Regions from separate parts of the Homo sapiens genome. Here region 2 is linked to region 1. The links are contacts of gene promoters, found by promoter capture Hi-C in blood cells and fetal thymus (Javierre and others, 2016). All regions are on one chromosome and are shown on one strand. Each heading gives the region's core, a stretch centred on a gene start or on the middle of the fragment in contact. The rest is flanking DNA. Distances are from core to core; before and after follow the strand shown.

Evidence for each region. Contacts are between HindIII fragments. The CHiCAGO score rates a contact against its expected background, and 5 or more counts as called.
Region 2: a contact is called between a fragment that was not itself captured here and the fragment with the promoter of TP53INP2 in region 1, in 1 of 17 cell types (endothelial precursors). The highest score is 5.4, in endothelial precursors.

What each region holds. Positions count from the first base shown.
Region 1 is chr20:34,702,920-34,705,619 of GRCh38, reverse strand. TP53INP2 (tumor protein p53 inducible nuclear protein 2) reads right to left here and starts at 1,276. Exons shown (of 5, transcript NM_021202.3): 1 at 1,108-1,276; 2 at 146-262. It overlaps LOC105372599 (a long non-coding RNA gene), which reads left to right and starts at 1,438. Exons shown (of 2, transcript XR_936690.3): 1 at 1,438-1,483; 2 at 1,807-1,961. RefSeq lists a silencer at 1,001-1,480. The HindIII fragment of the contact is 9,202 bases long and covers 1-2,700 here.
Region 2 is chr20:34,187,136-34,189,835 of GRCh38, reverse strand. It overlaps a transcript of ASIP not described here. Among named protein-coding and RNA genes, the nearest start is that of ASIP, 53 kb to the left of the region's middle. The HindIII fragment of the contact is 382 bases long and covers 1,146-1,527 here.

The DNA of each region.
Region 1 (2,700 bases), core at 27-2,526:
AATTGTCTGCACTAGGCCAGGTCAGGCCCTTCCTAGCTGACGACCTAGGAAGTTGGGAAGGTAAAGGGCCAATAGAGGGAACCCTCACCCCACCCTCCACCCCAACATCAGCCCTGGAGACACCCCGAGGCAGCCAATGACTCACCTCTCTGTGATCCAAACAGCTGGGAGGCAGCGATTTTATTGGACTCTAGGACTTCAAGGTACAGTGAGGACAGAAGGGGTCAGGACCACAAAAGGTGAACCAATCTCCAGAGATTCCCTGGAAAAGGGTCCAGGAGTAAGGACACCTAGGAGCCTATCAAACCGTGATAAGGCTGAGCCCAAGATCGGGTCCCCAGTGGAAGGAGGATGTGTATCTTACCACTTGTACTGAGCCCCTATTATGTCTTTGCCCCTGGCTAATAATCCATCTGTCACTCAGTGAGCATGACTCTAATTGGTTATGTGACCTCGAGAGAGCTAATCCTCCTCTCTGGGCCTGTTGCCCCTTCCATGCACTGGGGTCTAAGACCCTTCATTTTGGGTCTAGGAGTGACATCAGCTAAGGCGCTGCACACAAATCAGGGATTAGGAGGATGTTATTCTGTTAGTCCCTGGGGGCGGAGTCTGGAGCCGGAGGGAGGGGATCCCACCACCATCTGGTGCTGTCCCAACCACCTGGAGTCCCATGCAGCCCTGAACTCCTGACGACCCCCTCAACCTAGGCCCAGCAGCGCCGTCTGACTCCTTCTCAGGTTGCAAAGAGAAAGTAGGGGATCAGAGGCCTGACCCCAGCCCCTGGATAAGCCTAGGAAATCGCCGATCCCCCTGCAGCCCCCTTTGGATTGCAGCGTCTCACCCAGGGCCCAGCCCCGACACAGCGGCTACCGGGTCACGGGAGGACAAGCGACCCGAGCCTGTGGGGGCGGTACCGGCCTTGGTGACGTCTCAATGTCATATGCAAATAGAACGACGTCATGGTCTACCGGGCGTGCGGCAACCAATCGGGAGCCGGGAACGCGGCCCCGGCGGCCGCCGGCGGAGACAGACAAAGGCCCGGGCGCGGGGGGCGCAGGGCGTGTCCGTGGCAGGGGAGCCCCCAGGCCCACCCGGGTCGGGACTCACCTGGGGGCGGGAGGGGGGCGGCACGGCGTTGAGGTAGTTGTGCGGCGGGGCGTCCCAGGGTCGCCGGCCGCTCACAGGCCGGGCCGCATCGCCGGGACTCGCGGGGGAGGCGGCGGGGCCGCGGTCGCTCCGGGCTGCTGAGCTCGCCCGCGGGGCTTTGAGTCTGTGCGGCCGCTGCGGCGGGGCTCACGGCACAAATTGGAACGTTCAAACAGCTGATTGTGACGTCACAAAGGGGCCCGCCCGCCTCGCGTCACCGGCTGGCGGGGCGGCGGCCAATCCCGGGCTGCGGATCCCCCCCTGCCCCTCCCCTCCCCTCCCCTCCCGGTTTGCGGGCCGGGCGCTCGGGCCGGGAAACGTTCTCGGAACCGGGAGGGTGAGTGTTCGGGGAGGCAGCTGCGGGGAGCTGGGAGCCCTGCGCCGCGGCGAGCTCTCCGCGAGGAGGATCTCCACTCCCTCCTACCGGCTCCTTATTTTCCTGATTCTTCCCGGATCGCAGCGCCCTCACCTCTCCCACTGCTCCCCAAATCCTTTCACTGCATCCTATATCCAAGTCCCCCGATGCGGACCCTGTTCTCGACCCACACCACGTCCGTGCACCTGCATTCTCCCCACTGCCCTTATTCCTGCTCTCCCTCCCCCCTCTGGCTCACCTCCTCAGCCTTACACACTCTGCTTTCCCACCCCGTTTTTCCTCAGCTCGGCGGGCTTGAGAAAAGAGGGACATCCCCAACCCCCGGTTCCCGGGGAGCATCTGGGAATGTAGAGAAGTTAGTGAAGCTGACGTGAAATTTCGCAGAGTAGGACTTGGAGAGGAATTGCCCTGGGCTGAGTAAACATTGACCTGAGACGGCTCCGCGCTTGAACGTTTACATACCTTATTTAATCTATGTTGCTACCGGGGCTGTAAAGAAGTGGCAGGACAGGGACTGATTATGAGTCCTGATTTACACGTGGGAAAGCTGAGTCTCACAATCTCACTGTTAGCGTGTGAACTCATGTTCAACAATGCATTCAACATTTATTAGGCACCTACTATTGCACCACCATACCACTAGCTGACATGTATTGGCACACTTACTGTGTGCCACGACCTGTGCTATGGGTGTGTTTTTTTATCTTCACAACAACCCAAAAGGTAGATATTGTCCCGTTTAACAGTTGAGGAAACAGACTCAGAGAGCTCAAGTGACTTTCTTAGGTCACAAAAGTACAGTCAATGGCAGAGCCAGGATTTGAACCCATAGCTCCCAGCCCTGACCCTCTCCATTCTCTACATGAACCAGATGGTCTAAACCTCAGGGCGCTTTAGCCTCCCCAGAGTCCTGGCTTTCAGTCCTGACTGTGCCCTAGACTTGCTGTGTGACCTCAAGTCATGTTACCTCTCTGGGTCTCAGTTTGTCAAACAAACATATCCAGGCTTCCCTCTAGAGCTGCCATTGTAAGATTCTTCCACACTCTCTGCCCTCAGGATTCCACCCACCCCACGCTCTAGGCCCCAGCTCTCCCAGTGGCCTGGGAGATGCCCGAGAAGAGACCACAAATACACATATCAGAATCTCCAGGGCCAGAGGTTCTAGGTCAGCAGAGCAG
Region 2 (2,700 bases), core at 87-2,586, 520 kb after region 1:
AGTGACTGGGGTTGGTGGGAGACATGAAGCCTGACCTGGCCCTACAAGGAGGTCTGTAAGGCAGAGGGGTAGAATGCAAGGCAGAGATAAATGCAATGAGGTGACTCCTTTGGTAGAGTCCCCACTTCCTTCAGTTGGTCTCACCTACTCTGAACGTACTTCCTCCCATAGTATTTCAGAGTTTCCCTGTGTTATAATGTGTTATTGTGCACCTATTCACATGCTCCCTTGAGTTCCTCAGGCTGTTCATCCGTGTGGCTTCTCCAGGGTTTGCCTAATACTTAGGGGGAGCAGGGCCAGGTGTGGTGGCTCATGCCTGTAATCCCAGCACTTTGGGTGGCCGAGGTGGGCGGATCACATGAGGTTGGGAGTTTGAGACCAGCCTGACCAACATGGAGAAACCCCGTCTCTACTAAAAATACAAAATTAGCCGGGCGTGGTGGTGCATGCCTATAATCCCAGCTACTCAGGAGGCTGAGGCAGGAGAATCACTTGAACCCGGGAGGTAGAGGTTGCGGTGAGCCGAGATCACGCCACTGCACTCCAGCCTGGGCAACAAGAGCAAAACTCCATCTCAAAAAAAAGAAAACAAACCTTAGGGGGAGCAGTTAAGCTACCCACATGGCCAGAAGTTCTAGGCACCAGACCGTGGCTCTGCTCCTTATTGCTTGAGGTTTTGTTTAACCTCCCTGAACCTCAGTTTTCTCATCTGAAAAATGCCTCACGGTCGTTGTGAGAATTAGAGAATACTCAAAAAGTCTAAATGACAGCACTCGATAGTGTCATTATTGTGACAGTTTCATCTACTACAAATATATTATCCTGTCTTTTTAGAAATTTCTACCATTAAAATGACTCTTTAGGTTAAAGATCTCAGAGCCCTATCATAATGCTTATAGGGAGAAGTATGGTTCTTATTATATTATTGGTCATTATCATGATCCTGAATTGGTTTAGGTAAAGCAGAGGGCAGGAATGGGTCACAAATAGTAATTTTGTTTGGGCTCCGGGTGGGGGAAAGAAGTGTCTCCCAAACTTCAGTCATTTGAATAGCAATGTCAGGATTTCAACCATATCTCCAACCCAGCTATATTATTATTTACTCAATATTTTTCTTTAAATCAACTAATAACTTTTTCAAAGCTTAAATACATTCGTGTAAATTGGAAAATTTATAGCATGTTACTGTCATTTTTCATAAACAGAATATAATCCTAGAAAAAATTAATAATACAATGTCAATAAATTCTAAATAACTACTGTTACCAGGAGAGCACTCCAGTTCTGAGGTCTATTTTCTTGATTAAAAAGGAATATGTTAAAAGGGAATAAGTTTTGGAATATGTTAATGACACATCAACCCCCACTGAGACTTTCTTCTAGATGAATCCAGGCTTGAAAGCAAATTAAAAAGGAAATTACTTTTCCATGATGTGATAATCTTATGCTTGTCCATCTACCGCCTAAAGTCATCTTCTGTTTAACTTAAACCATCTCACATACCACCAGCAGTACATGTTCTAAGCTTTCGGAGACAAAAGGGCTGAAAGCAGGCTAATGAGTTCCCCAAGTAAACTGAAAAAACTAAACTGGCCAACTTCACCTCCTTTACGATTTTGTGTAAATGCTCTACCATCTTGCGTATAATTTCGTTTTTGTATCCCCTTTGGGAACTAGGATAGAATGGCACACATAAATATGCTCAATAAATATCGGGATGCTGGGTATGGGTAAAATGGTAGCAGAACAAGTCGATCTGAATAGGACCCTGGAAGTGCGAGGGGAAGATGGGTTTTCTGAAATACACTCCCTCATTTCCCACAGCCAAACAATTACAGGCTCAGCCTGAAGTCTAAACAAGATGTGGAAATGCCATACACAGCAGAGGAGAATTGGTTCTAAGGACTGAACTATATGAATAATAGTTATTTCTCTCCTTTTGGACTTGGAGATCTGGCTTTTCATAAATAACTATATTTACTCTTGTAATGGTCCTGCCCCATTTTCAAGTGATAGAGTAACTCCAAAGTATCTTTTCCTCTTAAAGGTCATTTATAGTAAGTGATGTGCTTCAGGAGTGTCTTGCACTGAACTGAAAACAAACCATCAAGGAACACTCCTCACCTGCCATATCCAAAAGGCACTCTAGGTTTGTATCCACTGTAATATATCTTCTTGATTTTGTACAGATAACATTAGCAATGGATACATAACATCTGTCACTGCCATTTATAAAATAAAATATCTGAGTCTCTCAAAGACAGTTTAGGAAATTCACGATCCTCCTAAGAGAAAGACGAAAACACCGTCAGTAGATTCTCAGCCCCAGGACAGGCCAGCTTAAAGTGATTAGGCTTGTGGACAGAGATTAAACTGACAAACCTTACACACTTGGCCCTAGCCTGGAGCAGGGGATTGATTTTTTCTCTGAGAAGAACTTTAGAGGCCAAAGGAAAAGACAAGTTGAAAAGAAATTCCTCTCTGAACAGTTACACAGCTAAGGCAAAGATTTCAGAATTCTGCCCCGAGAATCTTTCTTCCCAGCCTAGTTTAGTGCTATGACCAAATACAAAAAAAAGAACCAATTTAGGACTACCACCAGAATTATTTATTTATGACTCTCACACCCCTTTGTGGATCACTGATGGCAAGTTCTAAGTGACTGATTGATTGGTTCTCCTTTGTGCCTCATTGATCAAT